Regions from separate parts of the Homo sapiens genome. Here regions 1 and 2 are each linked to region 3. Evidence: promoter capture Hi-C in 16 types of primary human blood cells and fetal thymus (Javierre and others, 2016). All regions are on one chromosome and are shown on one strand. Each heading gives the region's core, a stretch centred on a gene start or on the middle of the fragment in contact. The rest is flanking DNA. Distances are from core to core; before and after follow the strand shown.

The links. The method cuts DNA at HindIII sites, captures the fragments that hold promoters and counts their contacts. A CHiCAGO score of 5 or more calls a contact.
Region 1: a fragment that was not itself captured here is called in contact with the fragment with the promoter of TRMT5 in region 3 in 5 of 17 cell types (endothelial precursors, naive CD8 T cells, erythroblasts and 2 more); the score reaches 9.6 in endothelial precursors.
Region 2: a fragment that was not itself captured here is called in contact with the fragment with the promoter of TRMT5 in region 3 in 3 of 17 cell types (M2 macrophages, endothelial precursors and M1 macrophages); the score reaches 11.5 in M2 macrophages.

What each region holds. Positions count from the first base shown.
Region 1 is chr14:60,716,254-60,719,866 of GRCh38, reverse strand. SIX4 (SIX homeobox 4) reads left to right here. Exons shown (of 3, transcript NM_017420.5): 2 at 1-107. Among named protein-coding and RNA genes, the nearest start is that of SIX4, 6.3 kb to the left of the region's middle. The HindIII fragment of the contact is 4,804 bases long and covers 1-3,613 here.
Region 2 is chr14:61,246,812-61,250,442 of GRCh38, reverse strand. It overlaps a transcript of PRKCH not described here. Among named protein-coding and RNA genes, the nearest start is that of TMEM30B, 33 kb to the left of the region's middle. The HindIII fragment of the contact is 684 bases long and covers 1,201-1,884 here.
Region 3 is chr14:60,978,851-60,982,405 of GRCh38, reverse strand. TRMT5 (tRNA methyltransferase 5) reads left to right here and starts at 1,327. Exons shown (of 5, transcript NM_020810.3): 1 at 1,327-1,443; 2 at 2,520-3,175. The coding sequence starts at 1,433. SLC38A6 (solute carrier family 38 member 6) reads right to left here and starts at 1,161. Exons shown (of 16, transcript NM_153811.3): 1 at 1,024-1,161. The coding sequence starts at 1,128. RefSeq lists an enhancer at 1,058-1,437. The HindIII fragment of the contact is 5,504 bases long and covers 1-3,555 here.

The DNA.
Region 1 (3,613 bases), core at 771-3,270, 260 kb after region 3:
TGGCATTGTCCAGATCCCCAATTCCGGAGCAAACAGCCAGTTCCTTAATGGGAGCATTGGATTCTCTCCACTGCAGCTGCCCCCTGTGTCAGTGGCAGCTTCACAAGGTAACAATCTCATTTGGTACCTTAATGCACCAGCAAATGTGTTCATCAGCTGCTGTAAGTGACGCATTTGGTGATAGCTATAGATTGATGTTTCTGTTCAGGTACCTTATTAGCTGCCGAAGCTGTAGAGTAGCCTTGATGTGATTCTCCTCTTTCACAATACCCATGTCATATCCAGGTTGCTTTATTCCCTTGCATCATGAGGATGGGCTTTTATTTTACTAACAACTGAATGGAAAAATACAGTTCATAGCAAGTCCTGCCAGTTCTACAATTACAGAAATATGATAAGTCAATCAGTGCTTACAAAATAACTCACTGCTTGGCATTTTAATATTAAAAATTAATAAAATTGCTAAGAACACAAAATTAGTCTAGCAGTTGGTAAGAATGCATACACTTTACCTAAGCATTATTTATTTGACCAAAAAATGTTTTAGAAGAACAAGCTAAAAAGACCGGATCAATTATGTTTGAATCCTGTTTCCTCCTATAATGAAGACTAACAGACCTAAAAGAAAATCAGAGGAATATGCCATTGGATTTCTATCGCTCAGCATATATACTAACCCCCTAAATGTGTGGGTTTATTTGTGAAGATAATAGTAAGCCTTATTTTATATGTTTGTGGCTTTACTAACAGCAATCTTCCAGAGAAAGCACTTAAATGAAATTCAGGAAAACTGAGGCTGATATATTAGTTCTTCACTGACTTTAAGCAAGCCTGGATCCTCTATGTCATTTTCTCTTTAAAGAAATAGAAATGGTTAGAATTTGGCAGTGGAGTTTGCATAATCCCTTGAATTCAGGAAGGGTAGATCTTAATGCACGTTTGCCTTCTTGTAGACAAATCTGAAAATCCAGATTTTTACAAAACCAAAGTAGTAATTGTTGGCTTTAAAGGTCTGCTTCCTATAAGATGGTTTTACCACCCCCCCAAAAAAATCAATTTATGCACAACTCTCTTGTTACCACAACTATGGTCTATGTCAGCTTATTGAAGGAATTAATGGAAAAATTGTTCTAAATTTCATTCTGTACATTTGCATTTCTTTAGGCAAAATGGTACTAAAACAAGACATTCCTGCAGCATACTATTCAGTTCATCATTGTTCCAAGTTATGGAAAGAGTTAAGTTACTATCTAACATAGGGCAAAAATATGAAAACCACAGGGAAAGCCAAAGTGCTTAGTTTGATAATAATTTAATGTGGATCTAACCCCTTTTCTCTCATTTGGAAAATTTCCAAACAGGTCACATTTTAAAGGCAACAAATTTGAGCAGAAAGAATGAGTTATGTATGTTGGGGGAGGAGAAAAGTAGAAATACTTTTAATTGTGTAATCTAGAGGAGCACTGCCATAGAAAATTATTATGAACTAATAGCTGAGTTTTTAAATGGGACATTTAATAGGAATAAGAATAGCATTTTCAGTTAAAATAAGTAAGATCAAATCTTAGACTGTCTGGGTGAGTTGAACAGACAGTCTAAGTTTAACCAGATAGTTAAGTTTAATCCAGTAAGCAACATTTCTATGGTAGTTAGGTATTGCAGTTCTCAATAAAACATTTTGGGGATTCAGTTTTTTCTCACAAACAGATACTGAGCCATTCTTTAAAATGTCTTGACAAGATAGACTTATCTTTCTATAGTTGGGATTTATGTGGAAAAGTAGAATATCTACATCTTTTACTCACTTTACAGTCTGAGCAACTAAGATTATTATTATTATTATTATTATTATTTTTAGGCGGAGACTCATTTTGTCACCCAGGCTGGAGTACAGTGGCGCGATCTCGGCTCACTGCAGCCTCTGCCTCCCGTGTTCAAGTGATTATCCTGCCTCAGCCTCCCTAGTAGCTGGGACTACAGGCGTGCATCACCATGACCGGCTAATCTTCGTGTGTTTAACAGAGAGAGGGTTTTGCTATGTTGGCCAGGCTGGTCTTGAACTCCTGTGATCTGCTCACCTCAGCCTCCCAAAGTGCTGGGATTACAGGCATGAGCCACAGCGCCTGGCCTGATTTTTTTCTTATCATTACAAAGTAATGCTTTGTATCTATATGGTTTTTCAGTTGGATTTTTTTATCTTAAAATTGTTGTTCAATTTTTACTTCAGTTGTAGTTATGCTCAAAAATCAAATTTTAGATCAAATTCTCTTTTATATATGTTATAATTTCTACAAATTCAGAAGTATTTATATTCAGTAGCAGTTGGGGAAAATGTTGCATGTATTATGCTATTTATGGCTCTATAAAAAGATAACTAATCATTTTGTTCATGCATACATTGGCAAACAATTTCATAAACATACACACAATAAACTAAACATCTATTTGAGATGTTTTTTTGCCACAAATCAGCTGCCTACAAGAATTTTAAAGACGCCGGGCACAGTGGCTTACGCCTGTTAATCCCAGCACTTTAGGAGGCTAAGGCGGGTGGATCACCTGAGGTCAGGAGTTCCAGACCAGCCTAACATATTGAAACCCCGTCTCTACTAAAAAAAACAAAAATTAGGCTGGCATGGTGGCACATGCCTGTAATCCCAGCTACTTAGGAGGCTGAGGCAGGAGAATCGCTTGAACCCAGGAGGTGGAGGTTGCAGTGAGCCGAGATCACGCCATTGCACTCCAGCCTGGGCAACAAGAGCAAAACCCCTTATCTCAAAAATAAATAAATAAATAAATAAAAATAAGAGTTTTAAAGCATACTTAAGTTGAAGGCAGTGTTTTCAAATAAAAGCAGTTTTTTCATATGTGTGGTCTGAAACAGAAATGTAAGAGAATAACTGAAACATACTTAGAAATGTTTTTCTTAACACTGGTATTTCTGTGATTAAACTTTCTAGTTAAATGTTTTAAAAGGGTTCATATGCAGTGTTTTCTTTTTACTTGAAGACATTCCTTTGCATTAAAAATATTTGGAAGACATAAACAGCCCTGTGGCACTTATTTATCAATAGAGGTGATAATATAATCACAATATTCTAATACTTCAGGAAGGAAAATGTTTTAGGTGAATTAATTACCTTTAACATTGGGCTGCTCTCTCAAAAAAGTAGTTTACTGAGGCCAGATGTGGTGTCACGCCTGTAATTCTAACACTTTGGGAGGCTGAGGCAGGAGGATCACTTGAGCCCAGGAATTCCAGACCAGCCTGGGCAACATAGTGAGACCTCATCTCTACAAAAATTTTTAAAAAATTGGCCAGGCGCGGTGGCTCATGCCTGTAATCCCAGCACTTTGGGAGGCCGAGGCGGGTGGATCACAAGGTCAAGAGTTTGAGACCAGCCTGACCAACATGGTGAAACCCTGTCTCTACTAAAAATACAAAAATTAGCCAGGCATGGTGGTGCGTGCCTGTAATCCCAGCTACTCAGGAGGCTGAGTCAGGAGAATTGCTTGAACCCAGGAAGCGGAGTTTGCAGTGAGCCAAGATTGCACCACCGCACTCCAGCCTGGGTGACAGAGCGAGACTCTGTCTCAAAAAAAAATTTTTTTT
Region 2 (3,631 bases), core at 293-2,792, 270 kb before region 3:
ATGTCTTTTCATGGCTTAATAGCTCATTTCTTTTTAATTCCTAGATAATATTCTATTGTCGGAATGTACTGTGGTTTATTTATTCACCTACTGAAGGGCATCTTCATTGTCCCAAGTTCTGGCAATTATGAATAAAGCTGCTATCAACATCCGTGTCCAGATTTATTTATTTATTTATTTATTTATTTATTTATTTATTTATTTTTGAGACTGAGTCTCACTCTATCGCCCAGGCTGGAGTTCGGCTCACTGCAACCTCTGTTCAAGTGATTCTTGTGCCTCAGCTTCCCGAATAGTTGGGATTACAGGCGCCCACGACCGTGCCTGCCTAATTTTTCTATTTTTAGTAGAGATGGGGTTTCACCATGTTGGCCAGGCTGGCCTTGAACTCCTGACCTCAAGTGATCCACCCATCTCGGCCTCCCAAAGTGCTGGGATTACAGGCATGAGCCGCCGTGCCCAGCCATGCAGATTTTTTTTGTGGACATAAGTTTTCAATACATTTGGGTAAATTGCCATTGGTGGGCCAAGCGTGGTGGCTCACGCCTGTAATCCCAGCACTTTGGGAAGCCGAGGTGGGTGGATCACGAGGTCAGGAGTTTGAGACCAGCCTGACCAACATGGTGAAACCCCATCTCTACTAAAAATACAAAAATTAGCTGGGTGTGGTGGCATGCACCTGTAATCCCAGCTACTCAGGAGGCTGAGGCAGGAGAATCGCTTGAATCCAGGAGGCGGAGGTTGCAGTGAGCTGAGATTGCACCACTGCACTCCAGCCTGGAGACAGAGCGAGACTCTGTCTCAAAACAATAAAAAATAATAAAAAAAAATTTGCCATTGGTGGAGCAAATGGTAATCTCTATACCTGTTTATCATGGTCTTCACACTTATGTCAACACTTCCCTTTTTTTTTTTTTTTTGGAAAGCTTCGCGTTACAAATTTGCACATCATACTTGTAAAGGACCATGCATACTAATCTTCTCTGTATGACTCCAATGTTTTTTTAAGTATATGTGCTGCCAAAGTGAGTGTGTACAAAACAGACACCTTCTTACATTTAGAACTTGCATTCGGATAGACTGACTCCTCCCCTGCTCCCTGGCTCTAGCACTCATTTCTAGAGAAGGGCGCTGTGTCCCAGCCATAATTGTTAGAGGAGAAGCAACTATACAGATGAAGCTGCAGTCACTGTTAAAGCTTCTTTAACTGGAGACCTAAGTGGGGATAGGTGGTTTTATAAGTGGTTTATCTAGAATTAGACCACACCATACACAATAAATATGCTGCTTATAATGCCAGGGTTTCCAGTTGCTTGTTGTCCATATAAATTGAACCATCGAGGCCAGGCACAGTGGCTCATGCCTATAATCCCAGCATTTTGGGAGGCCGAGGCAGGCGAGTCACCTGAGGTCAGGAGTTTCAGACCAGCCAGGTAAACATGGCGAAACCCCGTCGCTACCGAATATACAAAAATTAGCCGAGAATGGTGGTGCATGTCTGTAATCCCAGCTACTTGGGAGGCTGAGGCATGAGAGTTGCTTGAATCCGGGAGGCAGAGGTTGCAGTGACCCGAGATCAAGCCACTGCACTCAGCCTGGGCAACAGTGTGGGATGCTGTCTCTAAATACATACACACACACACATACATACATACATACATACATACATACATACATACATACATACATACATAAAACCATTGAATTAGGTGAGTTTTAACTTCACATTCTGAGGGGAAAAAGAAAAGAAAATATTTGCATTGCAGTGGTGAGGCAGGAGGTTTATTGGATAATTTTGTTAATTTTGATTCCCAGTACTGGACACTCTTCAAGAGGAGTTGGAATTTCTGAAGCATCTCCTTGCCCCTTTTGACCACATAAGCTTTCCTTGTTCAGGCCCCCTCAGATGGTATTGATAGTTACGGTGCTGGTAAGCTGGTATGAAGTCTGAGGGCCAAAAAGCACCCCCTCCATCTGCCCTTCCACAGGTTGAGTGGTTGGCAGCCAGTATCTTAGCTTTGTTTATGCTGCTCTGGTTTTTCTGTCATTAACATCCTTTTTCTGACTAATGATTTTTTGACTTGCAGCAAATAGTTTTCCAAAGGATAAACCAACTCCAGATTATTTTGATGGTTGAGGTAACATGCCAAATGTGAAATGCAAGTTTTCCAGTAACTCTAGGTGGGTGAGTTCCAGTTGAATGGATGAGGTTGCATTTTAGATATGGGTCAACCCACCAGGACAGGAGTGCTAGAGAACACCAAGAAGATAAAGACATCTAGAGGATATTGATTTTAGGTGATAAATAATGTGGTCAGGGGATATAACTCATGAGAACTGAGGTATGTTTGACTCATTTCGTTTAGCACTCCTATTTCTTAGAAACACACTCCCAGACCATACAAGGAAGTCTTACAGCTGCACCACTGTGAAATGACACTGGATGATTACATCTCCAAGTTGATGGAGTATCCTGTATTTGAAAGCCATTTTAGAATTATAGAAAATAAGGCCCATGGGGACATGGAGGTCAGCCTACCAATGCCAGTATTTCCAGATGATCTCTACTGTTGTCTTCAGGTAACTGTGTAACTTTACCTCGTCTACTGCAGGGTGTTTTAAAAGCCTCCATAAGTCAGATGCTCTATGGCTTATTTTTTCTGTTCAATTCCTTTCTTTCTTTCTTTTTTTTTTTTTTTTTTTTTTTGAGATGGAGTCTCACTCTGTCTCTCAAGCTGGAATGCAGTGGTGCAATCTCGGGTCACTGTAACCTCCGCCTCCAGGGTTCAAGCGATTCTCCTGCCTCAGCCTCCCAAGTAGCTGGGATTACAGGCACATGCCACTATACCTGGCTAAATTTTGTATTTTTAGGAGAGATAGGGTTTCACCATGTTGGCCAGGCTGGTCTCGAACTCCTGACCTCAGGTGATCTGCCCACCTCGGCCTCCCAAGGTGCTGGGATTACAGGCGTGAGCCACCATGCCTGGCCAACTTTCAATTCCTTTCATTCATTCTACCAAACATCATTTAATCAATCAGTTTTCAAAACTTCTTGGATTTTCATTTAAACCAGTTCCTAAGGGGCTGAGGTATACATTGAACATATAGAGAAACCTAGTAACAATAATGAAGTATCTGTATACGTTGTGTTCCTACAGAGTTTAAAAAAAAAAAAAGTCTAATGTCCTAGGGAACTTTGCTTTAAGGGGACACTTTCTTTTTGGGAAGTCATCATTTAGTTTAGTTTATCATATATTTTTGAATGCCAACTCTTACCATATACTATATTGGGGAGGATTATTGATTATTCAATGAATAGGACATAGTTCCTGCCTTTACGGTGTTCCCAGTGAAGGTGGGAGATGAGGCATTTCAACGTGATGCAGGCAATTCTCTGTTGAAGAAGAGTCAGGGCTAGAGAGCATCTCAGCATGGAAGCCTGGAGCTGTTACCCTGAGCTGTTTCTCAAATAACCATTGGGAGACAGGCAGGCCAACAATGGGGGCCGAAGAGGGTCTCATGGGCCTGGAAAGACATGAGAAAAAGTGCTGACATGGCCGGACACAGTGGCTCACATCTGTAATCCCAGCACATTGGGAGGCTGAGGTGGGAGGATTGCTTGAGCCCAGGA
Region 3 (3,555 bases), core at 78-2,577:
CACCAGGGTTTGTATGACACACTCGTTGCTTAACCAACACTAATTTCCTTTCCTTTCCTTCCCACCTCCCACTACTGCAGCTCCAGGAATCTAGGGTTTCTTAGGAAAATGATTTCCACCAGTACACAAGACAGGCAGAGTTCAGGAAGGGCCATGACTAACCTTGTGACTGCAAGAGATGAAGATAGGATGGGAATGGAGTGGGGAGAGAGAGGAGGGATAAGGCCTCAGCTCATGTGATTACTAAAGAATTGCTGAGTCAACCTGGGACTGCTGTGGGCAGTTGTTTCTCCTCAATTACTAGGACTGCACAACTAATCTCTACTTATATATCTAATGAATTAGTTCTACCAAACTGGAAGGATGGTCAGGAATATCTTGCAATGACAATATTATAAACAGAAGCAATTCACGTTGTTCTGGCAGTATCCCTGAAAACATCCCCCTCCCCACAAACAGCACCGGGAACAAAGTCCTGGGAACAGTGTCTAGGACTCGAGTTAAAAAGCGGAGTGCCCACTGCACAGGCTTTAGGGTCAGGAACGTGCTATGCACTTACTACCAAGCCACTTCCATTCTACCGCTAAGAATTTCTGTATTAAAATGTTTATTATTTTCCCTCCCCCCATGACTAAGTCGGAAGAGGAAAATCCTGTGACTCTTGCAAAGACCTCACGAGACTGGTGGAGAAAATAAGGTGACAAAAATACTAACTAACAGCAGTGAGTACATAATCCTAGGGCCGCTCATCCCATCATGTTCGCAGCTTCCACTCAACGCTGCATCTCTTCCACCCGACGCTTTTCATCTTTTCTTTCTAGAGTATGCTAGGCTGCTATCACGTTCATAACTGCGCCAATCTCATCTGAATCTCGGCGGCTGCCTTCAGACCCCATCCCCCAGGGTTCAGGCTCCAGCATCTCCCCTGTCCCGGTGCGGTCCTCCTTTTCTGGGTCTTATTTGGCAGGCACTTGAGGGAAGCCGGAGGGCGTCAGCGCGGGGAAGCGAACACAGCCCACTTACGTTGCTTAGCAACGGACTCAACTCTTCGGCCTCCGCTTCTTCAGGCTGCTGGACAGAGACATACCAGCCCCGCTCAGCGTTGAAGCTCCCCCAGGACGCCTCCATGCTGCTCTCCAGCTGACTACCAGTTCCATCTACGAGCCTCTACCCCTGCCCTGCGCTCCAGTCGTCGGTCGCGCCAGAGGCGGAGCTTTGAGCCCGGCCCTTCCGGCATTCCGTACTTCACCAGGGCCTGGAAGGAGAGGAGCGAGTCGACTTGATCTGATGACGCGCGCCCTCTTCGCGGCGAACAGTGATGATGTCATAGAAGACCCGCCCATCCACCCGCGACCCACATCCGATCGGTACCGGAGCGGGAGGTGAGGGGTCGGCTCGCGGATCCAGCTGCAGAGCGACGTGGGGAATTGGAATGGTGCTTTGGTGAGGTGGCGGCCGCGTTAGGGGCTAATGGTCCAGGGGAGGTACCAGCCCGCCCAGGGCTGCTCTCTGCCATGTGCTGCCTGGGCACAGAAACATCGCGAGGTCACCCACCCGCCTAGGTGCTGAGCTTAGTTTCGAGGTTCTGGATAGTAAGGAATGTTTCAAAAGCCTTTCGCCACATTTTACTGGTGGGAAAACCGAGACTTATAGTAATTTATCCAGGGTCACCCAGCTGGTCAGCTGCTAGAACCAATTTGATCTCTGACGGTGAAGTTAGACTTCGTTGCTTTACAGGATTCTGGGACAGGGCCCTTTCCCCTTACAAGTAAATTCTTTGGTATTTTAGAAGACAGTGAATAACTGATACTATGCATATAACAATCAGCAAAGCTCTCGTCCTCAAAATACAGAAGCCTCTAGTTAAAGGCAGGACATGTGGCAGTAAAGCATCGAAAACAAACAACAGAGCAATATATTAAGAACACAAGCACCGAAGTCAGTCAAAACTAGGTTTTAATCCATGTTTAGCCACTTATCAGCTGGGAGACTTTGGGTGGGTTACCTTACGTCTGAGCTTTAGTTTACTTATTTACAAAATGAGGGTGCAATACTGCACACCTCCCAAGATTCATAATGTACATAAAGCATTTAGCGCAGTATCTGACACAATAAGCACCCATGAGACTATCCTAATAAATATCACCACTAGTAATGGTCATGTATAATGACTATTTCATTTACAGATGACCATTTAACTCATACTTCAGTCTTCCAATCCCAAATGTATTATCTAGAAAATTGTGGGTGAAGAGGATCATTGAGTATGGCTAATGGATCACTAAGCCCTCTGAACTGGGAGCAGATGGGTTGAAGGTGTAAATTTAATATATACCACTATTATCTACCACTAATACGACTTCCTGAAGAAGTCATCCTAGTCTGGAAAAGATAGTATACTTCCCACACATCACTAAACGTTTTATTTGTCAGCATTTAGCCCGTTATTTGAGATAGTAGAATTTAGATTTTTATTCTCAAAAGCTGTCGTGTGTGAATTTTTTTTTTTTTTTTTTAAGGATCTTATGGAGGCCATTTGGATTCTCAGGAAGATTTCTGAAACTGGAAAGCCATAGCATAACTGAATCAAAATCGTTGATTCCAGTAGCTTGGACATCCCTGACACAGATGCTTTTGGAAGCACCTGGTATTTTCTTATTGGGTCAAAGAAAAAGATTCTCAACCATGCCAGAAACAGAAACACATGAGAGAGAGACTGAATTGTTTTCACCACCTTCTGATGTCCGAGGCATGACAAAACTTGATAGAACAGCTTTTAAAAAGACAGTCAACATTCCAGTGCTTAAAGTGAGGAAAGAAATAGTCAGTAAATTGATGCGATCCCTAAAAAGGGCAGCATTGCAGCGCCCAGGCATAAGACGTGTGATTGAAGATCCGGAAGATAAAGAAAGTAGACTAATCATGTTGGATCCCTATAAAATATTTACTCATGATTCCTTTGAGAAAGCAGAACTCAGTGTTTTAGAGCAGCTTAATGTCAGTCCACAGATCTCTAAATACAATTTGGAACTAACATATGAACACTTTAAGTCAGAAGAAATCTTGAGAGCTGTGCTTCCTGAAGGTCAAGATGTAACTTCAGGGTTTAGCAGGATTGGACATATTGCACACCTAAACCTTCGAGATCATCAGCTGCCTTTCAAACATTTAATTGGTACGTGTGTCATAGTAATATTCATGTATTTGAAGGGAATTTGCAAATTGTTAATTTTAGCTTTAAAAATTATTTTTTTTAATGCCAAGTTACAGAGGCAGAACATTTTATCATGTTAACTTTAAGCTAGATCTTGAGCTACATACCCTCTTTTGAGGGCCATTTTGAAATATCTTCTTTAGTCATAGCAAGTTCCAAATACTGGTCCAGGCTTTTGTGTACAACAATACATCAGTGTAGATTAAACTTGAATCACATGCTTTGGCAGCTACATTGAGGAGAGATCTTTTTGGTACACAAGACTTGTTAGGCCTTCAGGGCTATGTTAAATACTAGGTTTCATAAATTTGGGTACTTTATAGTCAAAAGTGCAAGATGTT